Linked DNA regions of Homo sapiens: regions 1 and 3 are each linked to region 2. The links are contacts of gene promoters, found by promoter capture Hi-C in blood cells and fetal thymus (Javierre and others, 2016). All regions are on one chromosome and are shown on one strand. The core of a region is centred on a gene start or on the middle of the fragment in contact, and the rest is flanking DNA. Distances in the headings are between cores, read along the strand shown. Region 1 overlaps SH2D4B (SH2 domain containing 4B). Region 2 holds the start of PRXL2A (peroxiredoxin like 2A). Region 3 overlaps SH2D4B (SH2 domain containing 4B).

Region 1 (4,391 bases), core at 1,164-3,663, 140 kb before region 2:
TGCCCCAACAGCGATGTGTTCTCTTAACACAGATGCCTTTTGTTCTAAGCTGTAAACTTTAATCTTCTGGAACTTCAGTCTTCTGGAAAAGTTCTTCTAGAACTCCACTAAGCACAGGAGGAATGTGCTCTGCTAATGTTTATCAAGTACTCACAACATACTTTGCTTCACTGGGACCATCATTTCGTCTTCCTTACAAATCTGGGATGCAGAACTTATTATCATCATCTCCAGTTTAGGTAAGAGGAAACTTAGGCTCAGAGACTCATGAGTATCTTACCAAAGCCAAATTAATAAGTGGGAAACAGCCACAGTTAGAAAGTGGGTAGCCAAAATTGGAACCCAGACACTCTTACTGTCATACATGCCTCTGGCATAAAGGAGGCAAAAGTCCAGCACTCTGTGGGCACAGGGGCTGCTGCCAATAGTGCCAGGCTATTTGATATTGTATTCAGCACTGCCTTTGCTGTGTATGAGCAACACAGACATGGGGCTGGTCACGCTAAGCCACCACCATCACTCCCTCCAACCTTGTAACTGTGAAATGGCGCCCCCTCTACCCCAGCTCAAGGACACACCTCCTATGAAGCCTGGACCCTCTCTTGCTAGAACAAGAACAAACCCAAGAACAGCTCCCACCGGGGCCATGATGCCCCACGTGTAGCAGGACTTGGTGTAACTGTCATTGGGAAATCCACAACGCCCCACCTCCAACCCCTACTTCCCTGTCTGCAATTTGTTCAATACAGAGACACAGCAGAATCAATGTGCCAGTGAGGAGCCCAGACCCTGCTGTCAGTCCTGTTCCTTAAAATCTCTGGGATCAAAATCGCTTAATCTGTAAAATGAGGGAGCTGCACATGTCCTGGGGACAAGGGACAGGACATCCTAAATCTTTAGCATCTCACAGTTTTGAGGGTGAGAATCCCACCATGGTGCCCAGAAAAAAAGCACACCAGTGAAATACTAGGATAGAAATAAATGATGCCAGCCAGGCATGGTGGCTCACACCTGTAATCCCAACACTTTGGGAGGCCATGGTGGGTGGATCACCTGAGGTCAGGAGTTCAAGACCTGCCTGGCCAACATGGTGAAACCCCATCTCTACTAAAAAATATAAAAAATTAGCCAGGTGTGGTGGCGGGCACCTGTAATCCCAGCTACTCGGGAGGCTGAAGCAGGAGAATCACTTGAATCCGGGAGGCAGAGGTTGCAGTGAGCCAAGATCGTGCCATTGTACTCCAGCCTGGGCAGCAAGAGCAAAACTCCGTCTCAAAGAAAGAAAGAGAGAGAGAGCAAGAGAGAGAGAGAGAGAGAAAGAAAGAGAGAGAGGGGGAGAAAGAAATGCCTAAAGCCTAGGGTTATGTAATTCTAACACGACATGGGGTAAATACACATGAAAATGAACCCAAAGAATTTAGACCCCAACATCTAAGGCAAAATCTGTTTCCAAATGGGAAAACCATAGGAAGCTTTGCTGATTCTTAGGTGAGAAAAACCTGGAAAGCAGTAATGCTAGCCACTCGGAGAGATAGCAGAGGGACAGGTAGATGCCTACAACCTGCTACTTCCACCCAGCTCCTCTGAGCTGGAGTGAGAGCTGGGATTGGGTTACAGGGAGTGCCGAGATAAGCAGCTGGTGGCCTTTCTCACGAGCTGCCCCTGCTGTCCTCCAGGCTGGAAGTGGAAGCAGGGAGGTGCAGAGATGGGGAAGCAGGGAGGGGACAGCGTTAGCATCCTGAAATGAGGGGACAGAAAAGAATCCCAGGGGAGAGACAGGAAGCTAGGGCAGCTCAGGTCAGCATCCACCAGCTGGAGTCCTGAAGTAGCGCAGGAGAGGCACCTCCCTCCATGCAAAGTGGAGCAAAAGTCAGTCCTGTTCAAACAGTCCCTGGGCTTTTGGCAGCAGCTGGGAGAAGGGAAGGAAAGGGAAACTGCACCGAAACTCAGGCTCCCTGCTGGTCCACTGATCACTGACCAGCTGTGTGACCCTGGGCATGAGCCTCTGTTCTCTAACAATGGTCTGAAATTCTGAATGTTTGTGTACCCCTGCAATTCATACATTGAAACCCTAGTCCCAGTGTAATGGTATTAGGAGGTATGGCCTTTGGAAGGTAATTAGGGCAAGAGGTAATTAGGTCAACAAAATGGAACTTTCATGAATGGGATTAGTGCCTTTATAAGAAGAGGCCAGAGAGCTAGCACACTTTCTTTCCACCATGTAAGGATACAGAAGTCAGCCATTGGCATCCAGGAAGAGGGCTCTCATCAGACCCCTGACCATGCTGGCTCCCTGACCTCAGACATCCAGAGTCCAGGGCTGTGAGAAATGTTTGTTGTTTAAACTACTCAGTGTGTGATAATTTCTTATAGCAGCCTGGACTAAGACACCACCACCCCATCCCCATCTGCCCAAGCTCTTCGGGAACCTGCAGAAGCATTGGAAAGGGACAGGCACTCAGTCCCGCTGTGTGTCTCACTCTTTGTAGTGTGGGAGAGAATCTCTTTCCCTGGGTCCTCATTAACATGGCTACTCTTAGACTCTCCTAACTCTTGCTAATCTGATTGCTTTAATTTGAGTGGAAGTGGTTTATTAGTGAAGTTGAATGTATTTTCGCATCTTCATTGTGATTTGAAATTTCCCTCCTGCAATTGCTTGTTCATTTTTTTTCCTTCATTTTTCTATTGGTTGTTTGTCTTTTGCTAGTTGATTTGGAGCACTTCATTATATTTTCTGGATACTAATCCTTTGCCTGTTATATATGTTGCAAATATTTTTCTATTTAAATCCAGTTTCATTCTTTTTTTAAGTTTGGCATCTTTTATTAAGATTTTTAAAAATCAAGTTATGTTGGCCAGGCGCGGTGGCTCACATCTGTAATCCCAGCACTTTGGGAGGCCGAGGCAGGCAGATCACGAGGTCAGGAGATCGAGACCATCCTGGCTAACATGGTGAAACCCCATCTCTACTAAAAATACAAAAAATATTAGCCGGGCATGGTGGAGGGTGCCTGTAGTCCCAGCTACTCAGGAGGCTGAGGCAGGAGAATGGCGTGAGCCCGGGAGGTAGAGCTTGCAGTGAGCCGAAATCGCGCCACTACACTCCAGCCTGGGCAACAGAGTGAGACTCCGTCTCAAAAAAAATAAAATAAAATAAAAATCAAGTCATGTTTCTTTTTCTTTTTCTTTTCCTTGTTGTGCTTTATTCTAAGAAAGGCTTCACTCTCCCCCAACAGAGTCTCATATTTTCTTTTATTACTTTGATAATTTTGTTTCTCCTTTTTTTGTGTTGATCTTTAACCACCTGCAATATATGTTTTTCATCATGGCAGAAACAGTGTGGAGGAAGCTTCCTATGTTGTGGCAGGAAGAACAGGCCTAGGATCAGATTCTAATTCCAACTCCTACTTGTTTTTTAGAGCAGGTTGCTAAACCTCTCTGAGATTCCACTTGCTCAACTAAAATGGAAATAATACCTTATTCATTGATTCAAAGACACCTATTTTAACATTTCTTCAATCAGGATGTACTTACAACCATTGATGTATCATAGTTTAATTTACAGCTTTCTTAGTAGGACATAAAATAATGATGTGTCTTTCTCTTTTTTTTTGAGACGGAATCTCACTCTGTCACCCAGGCCGGAGTGCAGTGGCGCGATATGGGCTCACTGCAAGCTCCACCTCCTGGGTTCACGCCATTCTCCTGCCTCAGCCTCCCGAGTAGCTGGGACTATAGGCGCCTGCCACCATGCCCGGCTAGTTTTTTTGTACTTTTAGTAGAGATGGGGTTTCACCATGTTAGCCAGGATGGTCTCGATCTCCTGACCTCGTGATCCGCCCACCTCAGCCTCCCAAAGTGCTGGGATTACAGGTGTGAGCCACTGTGCCCAGCCAATGATGTGTCTTTCAATCAAGCACTCTTAGATTTTATGAAATGCATAGGGGTGCATCTTCCAGGTCACTGAGGGGTCAGATAAGCTGAGGCCCTTAAAGGGCCTAGCACAGGCCTGACAGGCCCTCCATCTGGAGGAGTTCTCCTTCATAGTATAGAATGCAGCTGCCTTTACTTCTTGCTCTGCCATCCGACCCATCCTCCTTAGCTTCCAGGGACCCCTTTCCCCCACCCCCCGCTCCCCACCAAAAGCCCTTAGCTGACTAAGGCTGCAAGTTCTTTCCTTGTGGACACAGATTATTCAAAGCTGACAATTAATTATTAATTGTTAATTAATTAAATTAATTAAATATTAATCTTTCTCCACAGCCACAGAAACCACCCTCACCCCTGGGGATGCCCATGCCTGCCAGGTACCAAGTGCCATCAGCACCGGTGACTGTGGGTGACCCCATGCCTGCTCACAGCAGCCTCTGCTCTGGCTCCTCTCACTGCCC
Region 2 (4,046 bases), core at 1,175-3,674:
GAATAGATGCTGAAAGCAGCACCAGCCCCCACATTCCTCACTCTTGGGCGTATCTCAGGGTTTCCCAGTAGCTGATTATGTCCTCTTGTTTCCTCAAGCTGTAGGGCCCCCCACCCCTCAAAGAGCAAGCCATTCTAATCTCACTTGCACAGCCTCCTGTCTGGGCTCAGAACTCCGGCTTCATCAAGTTATATGGGTGTGGATAGGAAGGCAAGGCAATACCACAGAAGACACTGGGCTAAAAGCCAATAATCCTGGGTTTTCTCTCTTTGACTCTGAGAGTTATTTTATCCCTCTGAACCTCAGTGTCTTCTTAAAAACAAGGGCACTTTAAAGAGTTGTCATAAAGATTATATAAGAAGAGCAATTTTTAATGCGGTAACGCACTAGAAAACGGCAAAGCAGCATTATCTTTCTCTCTTTTGCAGGGCTCAGATTCACTCGTGCCCCTATAAAGACAGGATATCTGAAGCAGGACAGGCACAAAATAGTGAACTTCTGCAGCTGTGTCACTGCAGGCCTGCTTTCTGGTGAACGTTCTAGGTCTGGTGGGAACACTGGCTTGTCTCAGCCCCTCTGGCCTGCAGGCCCGCTCCATGCTATTCCTGTAGCAGCTAACACTGCCTCCTGCACTAGCAGTGCCAGAGAAGGCAAAGGACACTGCCCAGCTGTAATTTCCCTGTGCCAGAGGCCACTGAGCTCAAAGGTGAGGCTGGCTCTCTGCACAGAACCTCAGGATGGTTCTTGCCACACAAGCCACAGCAGAGAGACTTGGAGCTTCTGCTCAACATTTCACAAAGAAGCAAGAACCCAACTGGCAGGACAGCTGCCCTATTGCTTAGATAGGGACAGAGCCTGGGGCTTGAGCCCTAGAGTTCCAGTCCTATCCAAACTTTCTGAGCACCATTTAAATGACACGAGATGAGAAAATCATCAGAAATGTCTTTTGTACCCCTTCAGAAGTAATGCAGAAGGTCTCAACTAAATGACATGCTCTTATAAAAGACGGGGATATAGGAAAGGCCCACACCAAGAATAATATCTAACTTTAATTCTTGCAAGCTGTATAAACCTGGACAAGGAACTGTTTTGCATCAGTAAAATGGGAATGCTTCCTTAATTACCTTCTACAGAGTTGCAAGAATCAAAGGATTAAATGTATAGGAGGTGCCTTGTGAGGTACCTTACAAAAAGTGCAATAAATACGATGTATAATTCTTCATTTCTAGAGCAATGATTACCCTCAAAACGTTATTTGTACACAAAATGAAGAGTTTTCTGATGAATGAGTATGGTAACGAGTCGGGGTCTGCAGTGGAAATCCCAATCCTCATTCTCCAAAGCTGGGCCCGAGCAGGAGCATTCAAGACTATTCAAGCTGACTTTTTCACAATGCTTTTCAAAACAAATCTTGATTATTTTCTTTTTGAAAAACCACCTGCCAGGTTCAAAGGAAAATACATTAAAATAAAACAAACAAAAAAGCTGAGTTCTGGGTTGCTGGGCTGTGCAGACAGCATGATGTGGCAAGGAAAAGAGGCGCAGGAGCAGCTGGGAACCCCGGTCCGGCAGTGGACTCCCGGGTGTGCCTCCTTCCCACAGCCCTGGACCGGCTGGGCCTTGACTTCCCTTCCTTTGCCTCTAACCATCTCCACCTGCGCCTTCACCTCCCGCTCCAGCAACAACCCTGGGGGCAGATTGTTCATCTTTTCATTCCTAGACCTCAGCAGGGCTGTTAAGTTTACAACTGGGCTCTACCCAATTTAAAGTCAGGCGTTTGTGACTCTTGGGAAAGAGGGGGAACAGGTGCCTCCGAAACGCTGAACAACGCTAGAAACCGTGCCCTCTTAAAAGACACGACCCTAAGCGGGCACAGAGACGAGGACGAGGACTGCCAGGTCCGCACCTGGGGCTGGTCCAGCAGGGCGGCCCCCGGGCCCATGCTCCAGGGCAGGGCCCTCTCCTCTGTTCTTTGTCCCAACAATTCGCGAAGGTTGGCGCCACCGGCGTCACTCAAGGCTTGCGGGCGTGGACAGAGGGGGCCCTAGCCCGCCGCAGCAGCGCCGGGTCCCCGTCTCCGTTCTCCGACGTCTGGGCGCAGGGTTTTTCCATCGGCCGCCACGCAGGGTGGCGGAAGGGTCGTCGTCCTCGGAGGGAGCGCCAGCGCTGCGGCGGCTCCTAAGAAAGTTGGCGCGGGCCCGAGGGGCGCGCCTCACCAGCCCAGCACCCACCCTACCGGCCCTGCACTGCCTCAGTTTCCCCACCTACGCCGCGGCAGGCCCCGCCTACGGACATCACGTGCCTCGCGGAGCCCCGGCGCGCAGCACCTACCTCAAGTGCCTCCCTTCTGCCGGCCTTTTACCGCCCCGACGCCCGGGCGCTAAGGGGCCAAACCGCCCGGCCCGGAGGGTCCCAGGGGCGGGCCCCGCGCTTGCGCAGCCTCTAGCCTGTGCTGCATCGCGCGCTACCGCGCCACCGCCATGTGACCCGCCCCGCCCCCCGTGGGAGGAGCTCCGGGCCTGCCCCCGACTCGCCGACCTCCGGGCCGCGGTCTCCTAGCTCCGGTGGCGCTCGGGCGTGTGCCCCAGCGGTCCTTTTACGCACAGCGCTCGGTCGGTCCACTCCTCAAGTCCGCGAACCGAGGCCCCGACGCGTTCTTCAGGGCGCTGCCTAGGGCAAAAGAAGGCGCTGGACACCCCTAATGGAGCCTGGAAGCACCTGTCCTGCAGCCGAGGCTGGCCAACTTCCTTCCAATCTTCAGCCTGGTTTTGAATAGCTCTTTTGATAGGTTTTTTTTTTTTTTTTAACCTCCATGGGCAGGGGGAATCTAAAGGACCGACACATTCGATGAGCCCCTTCAAGCTGTATGTACAGATTCAGAATTTCCAACCTCAATCCTCCACCCACGTTCCCTTTCACTCCACAATGCCAGCTATGGGGCAGAGAACGGTGAGCCGCAGCCTTGCGGACTCCGGGCGACGCTGAGGCGGGTGTGTCACACACCGCTCATCCACTTACTCCTCCTGTTGGAAGTGCCCACTCTTTCATGAAAGTAGGAGGTTGTGTCCGGCGCGCTGGCTCACGCCTGTAATCTCAGGGCTTTGGGAGGATCGCTTGAGCCCAGGAGTTCAAGACCAGTCTGGGCACCATAGTAAGACTCCATCTCTACGTAAAAAACAAAAACTAGCCAGGCATAGTGGCGCGTGCCTGTATTTCCAGCTACTCTGGAGCTGAGGTGGGAGGATCGCTTGAACCCGGGAGGCGGAGGTTGCAGTGAGCCCAGATCGCGCCACTGCACTCCAGCCTGTCTTTAAAAAACAAAAAAAAGACCCTGTCTTAACAACAAAAAACAAAAAGTAGGAGGTTGGACTTTCAGAGACAGCAGAGCTGACTCACGATACATATTAGTGGTTGGCCGGGCTCGGTGTCTCATGCCTGTAATCCCAACACTTTGGGAAGCCAAGGCGGGCAGATCACTTGAGGGCAGGAGTTCGAGACCAGCCTGACCAACATGGCAAAACCTCGTCTCTACTAAAAATACAAAAATTAGCCGGGTGTGGTGGCGCGCACCCGTAGTCCCAGCTACTCAAGAGGCTGAGGCAGGAGAATAGCTTGAACCCCGGAGGTGGAGGTTGCAGTGAGCCGAGATGGTGCCACTACACTCCAGCCTGGGTGACAGAGTGAGATTCCGTCTCAAAAAAAAAAAAAAAAGACATATCGGTGACACAGTGCAAAGACCAGTCACAGGGCAGCATAAGGTGAAGTGGCAAAGCAGGCCGATGTCCGCCCGTCAAAGGTGGTCATTTGCCTGCAACACCTTCCCCCCTTCATCTGGGAGCTGCCCACAGGTGTACAAAGTCCAAAGGCTTCCGTGATTCACCTCCCTGACTTCCCACTCAGACTCCATGTTCCATGTAAACTTACAGCAACACTTGGGGAGCTTGATCTATTCAAGGGGGTCTCTCCTCAACCAAACTGTGAATTCCTCCACTTCACCTCTGGGACCCTAGAGCCTGGCCCAGGGACAGCGTGGAAATAAACTTAGA
Region 3 (4,645 bases), core at 1,412-3,911, 230 kb before region 2:
AGCTGAAACTGGATCCCTTCCTTATACCTTATACAAAAATTAATTCAAGATGGATTAAAGACTTAAACATTAGACCTAAAACCATAAAAACCCTAGAAGAAAACCTAGGCAATACCATTCAGGACATAGGCATGGGCAAGGACTTCATGACTAAAACAACAAAAGCAATGGCAACAAAAGCCAAAATAGAAAAATGGGATCTATCGAACTAAAGAGCTTCTGCACAGCAAAAGAAACTACCATCAGAGTGAACAGGCAAGGGAGAAAATTTTTGCAATCTACCCATCTGACAAAGGGCTAATATCCAGAATCTACAGAGAACTTAAACAAATTTACAAGAAAAAAAACAAACAATCCCATCAAAAATTGGGCAAAGGATATGAACAGACATTTCTCAAAAGAAGACATCTATGCAGCCAACAGACACATGAAAAAATGCTCATCATCACTGGTCATCAGAGAAATGCAAATCAAAACCACAATGAGATACCATCTCATGCCAGTTAGAATGGTGATCATTAAAAAGTCATGAAACAACAGATGCTGGAGAGGATGTGGAGAAATAGGAACACTTTTACACTGTTGGTGGGACTGTAAACTAGTTCAACCTTTGTTGAAAACAGTGTGGCGATTCCTCAGGGATCTAGAACTAGAAATACCATTTGACCCAGCGATCCCATTACTGAGTATATACCCAAAGGATGATAAATCATGCTACTATAAAGACACATGCACACGTATGTTTATTGCAGCACTATTCACAATAGCAAAGACTTGGAACCAACCAGAATGTCCATCAATGATAGACTAGATTAAGAAAATGTGGCACATACACACCATGGAATACTATGCAGCCATAAAAAAGGATGAGTTCCTGTCCTTTGCAGGGACATGGATGAAGCTGGAAACCATCATTCTCGCAAACTATCACAAGGACAGAAAACCAAACACCGCATGTTCTCACTCATAGGTGGGAAGTGAACAATGAGAACACTTGGACACAGGGCAGGGAACATCAGACACTGGGGCCTGTTGTGCGGTTGGGGGAAGGGGGAGTGATAGCATTAGGAGAAATACCTAACGTAAATGACGAGTTAATGGGTGCAGCAAACTAACATGGCACATGTATACCTGTGTAACAAACCTGCAGGTTGTGCACATGTACCCTAGAACCTAAAGTATAATTTAAAAAATGAACAAAATAAATAAATAAAAAGATGCCTCCCTCACAGATCTATTGGTAAGATTAAATAAGAGCATGGATGTAGAGCAATAGGTTCAGTGCTTGACACAGAGAATGTGTCAATGTCCTCACATCCCCTCCCTTTCGCTTTCCTCTGTTAGAAGGCTCTTTCCAACACGTAGAAATCAACCTTGATCCTGGTTAGTCCAGTTTCCAGGCAGTACTCCACACTCAGTGCCCGAGTATCTGTGAATAGGTGATTCTCCATGTGTATTATTCATAAGGTCAAGGGCTGTCCCTGAATTTCTAGGGACTTCCATGAAGAGACAAAGAGAAAGCAATACAAACCTAAGAGTCCCTATTATACCAAAACCCCAGTGAGACCGTCAAGTCATTCTGTGAAACCATCTACACCCACAAAGCTTGGTTAGATGTCGGACGCCGGAGCTACCACCACTCTGCCCCTCGGAATCCTTCGTCCTGCCCTTCCAGGTCACTGAGTTCCACCTCTGGCTTTCTCCCAGTTACTAATGATGCCAACGGCCACACGAACATAAACGTTGCTTCTTACTACATACACTGCTTGGAAGACAACATCTTTTCCAATATAGGGTCCATGGCAGGAGGACAAATAACAAAAAGAATGCTGAGAAACAAGACTTTCCATAAGCACTTCACAGTCACAAAGCGCTGCTCTGTACTTGACTTCATTTAATGCTCACAGGGTCCGAGCTAAGTATTATTCACATCCATTTGCCTGGCTAGGACGCTGACGTTTGGTGAGACTAAGGTGCTGGCTCAAGGTCACACATGTACTAAGTGGTTAAGCTGGAGTTCAAATAAGAGACATGGTAACTCCACCACTAGAAAAGCTTCTCTAATCACAGGGTTGCCTACTGCACTTCAGCTAACTCTCAGAAGCTGCTAGAGGTCTGGCTTGGAGGTCCTCATGAGAGACGTTCTTGGGAATGAGTTGGAGATGAGACCCAGGCTTGGAGAAAGGGATGATCATCCAGTCCTTGTGTTAACAGGAGGGAGCACTCAGGTACCCAAGGTGAGAAGAGGCCTGAGGACCAGGGTGAGAGGTGCCCGCATGCCCCAGAGAGTGAAGCAGAGAGCAGAACAGTGGGCCCTCGGGCCCCGTGTGGACAACCTCTGGTCTCTTCTGCCCTGATGCTCTACATCTCTGAGACCCTCCAGCCCCACTGCCCAGAGCCAGCAGCCTTGCTTCTCTTGCTCTAGCTCTCTCTTCAGCTCCAATTTCCACCAGTTCCCCCTCCCCCCCATTAGTATCCCTGTGAGGGATACCTTATGGAAATCAACGAGATCCGTGAGCGTTGCATGGCGATTGGGGTCCACTCCCAGGAAGCTGTAAAAATCCCCAGAAGCATCCACAAGAAAGTGTTTGAACCCTTTCTGCAGGCGGTAGGAGAGGGTGTAACCCCAGATTTTCTCACTGACCCGGACCAGGAATGCTCCCTCAGTCATGTTCTCCAGGAGAGCTTCTGCATCTTCTCGGCTAATAATTCCTGATTTAAAATAGAAAAAAACAAAAAAACACAGCAGGTTCTGCGACTGCCTCCCCCACGATTCTCCACTCCTCCCTGCCCCTCACCCTGTGGCTCAGTGCACATGCCATCCACACAGTCCAGGGTGGCAGGAAGGAAAGAGCCCCAAGGGCTGGCCAAGCACATGCCTCCTTCCACAGAGAGGGCATCTTGGCCCAGCGCCACCCGCCGTGAGCCTGGGGGCAGAGTTTCTACTAGGACGTGAGTTGAGCATGCTTTCCTCCACATTGAGCCAGGGTGATTTGGATTAATTGGGTAAGCAAGGAATTAGTAGTGAGCTGTGATTATAGCATTATTGATTATAAATATAAGTCAACAGGCTTGTGAAAAGCCTTAAGAGGCCTGCTTTAAAGACTAGTCCAGAATGGCTGCTGATGACTAACTCACTTATTTCTCTAGTACCATAAATAAGCACCTAAAAATAGGGGTTTCCCTTAAAAAGTAAAAAGACTTCTTCCAAATACCTGTGGACACCAGGCAAAAAGTTTCTTAATAGGGGCATAGAATCAAGCTTCACTTCAGCTCAGAGATCAAAACTTTCTAAGGACTTGCACTCCTACACAATGCAGTTTCATCACAATTTGGAATTCTGGTTGGCCTTGGAGTCGTTGATATGCTGGTAGCAATCCCCTGAAATGCTCTCAGGAAGCCGCTGTCATCTGGGTGATATAGGAGGCGTGATGTAGAACAGGTTCCAGAGGCAAGTAGGTGGGAAGAGGAGGGGAAGCCAGAAGACCTGGATTACCCCCACCCCCGACCTCTGCCAACCTGGCTATGGAATTTCCAGCCAAGCCCTCAAGGTCTCCAGTGTCCTTTGACATTTAGATGATCATAACCCAAATACTTAGAAGGTATGTTATGACTTTCAAGTTGAATAAAGTATTCAAACTCATTTCATACATAGAGAATAGCTGTGGAGATGCTGGATCCTGTTAGCATCTGTTATTCTGGAGGAGAGGTGAATTGCAACACATTGTCCCTTTGCTCACCCATGGACTTACCCTTTCCACACTATCAGTGACAGGCATGGGGACAGAGTGGCTGGGCTGCCCATCTCCATGACCCTGAGAGGCTCAGCACACCTGTGACTTCTCCCCAATCCCCGAAGCCACTCCCGAGCGAGCCGCAGTCAGGCTCCCCTCCCATCACTCTCCTGCCTCCCAGGGCACACTCGAGACTTCCCTTGTGCCCAAGGCATAGGACACAGAGGCAACCACACTGCCAAATGCTGCACCCTTTAAAGACAATTGGCGCAACCAGGGGCCACCTATTTCCTCCTTGCCCAGGATTTACAGCAAGAGGCATCCAAGCCAGCCACCCCTCCCCAGCCAAGCTCTACAAGCAGAAAAGGAAGAAGAGTAAGACAAGGAAGGAAGTGAGGAGCCCTTTCGCCACAGGACACCTGAAAAATAAACACTGGCCCATGCAAGAGGGAGGATGCACCCCGCTGCTTCCCCCCAGAAGGCCTTGGGGGCTTCATGCAAAAAAGTAGGGACAGACAAAAGAGGACCGGAAGGGAAAGTCCAGGATCCCTCAAAAGTTGGCACTGTCCTTCACCTACCTCCCTGCCCCAACACCAGAACACCCGGGCCCTAAAAGAGGCTGCAGCAGGGAGATAAGTAAGGGGGGCCAGACGCAGGGCCAGGGCCTGGGAGGAAGAGGGACCAGAAGATGTCACCCTCATCCCCACTCCAAGCACCTCAAGCTGATATGGTAGCGGGGCTAGGGTTGGAGAGGAGGGGAGTGTTACTAGGGTGGGAGACTACAGTCAAATTATATACGATTCAACTTTTTTTCTTTTAAACAAGTATCTTTATTGTAACGTTTATTACTTTTTCATTGATGAATAAAAATTATATATATTTATGGTGTACATGACATTTTGATATATGTA

Evidence for each region. Contacts are between HindIII fragments. The CHiCAGO score rates a contact against its expected background, and 5 or more counts as called.
Region 1: a contact is called between a fragment that was not itself captured here and the fragment with the promoter of PRXL2A in region 2, in 1 of 17 cell types (monocytes). The highest score is 5.0, in monocytes.
Region 3: a fragment that was not itself captured here is called in contact with the fragment with the promoter of PRXL2A in region 2 in 1 of 17 cell types (M1 macrophages); the score reaches 5.4 in M1 macrophages.

The regions. Positions count from the first base shown.
Region 1 is chr10:80,549,816-80,554,206 of GRCh38, reverse strand. All of the region lies in intron 1 of SH2D4B (SH2 domain containing 4B), which reads right to left. Among named protein-coding and RNA genes, the nearest start is that of SH2D4B, 14 kb to the right of the region's middle. The HindIII fragment of the contact is 1,877 bases long and covers 1,475-3,351 here.
Region 2 is chr10:80,406,929-80,410,974 of GRCh38, reverse strand. PRXL2A (peroxiredoxin like 2A) reads right to left here and starts at 2,424. Exons shown (of 6, transcript NM_032333.5): 1 at 2,332-2,424. RefSeq lists enhancers at 131-630, 1,477-2,070 and a silencer at 2,356-2,645. The HindIII fragment of the contact is 7,614 bases long and covers 1-4,046 here.
Region 3 is chr10:80,632,352-80,636,996 of GRCh38, reverse strand. SH2D4B (SH2 domain containing 4B) reads right to left here. Exons shown (of 8, transcript NM_001388272.1): 7 at 2,492-2,712. All of the region lies in intron 1 of LOC105378387 (a long non-coding RNA gene), which reads left to right. Among named protein-coding and RNA genes, the nearest start is that of LINC02655, 15 kb to the left of the region's middle. The HindIII fragment of the contact is 1,207 bases long and covers 2,058-3,264 here.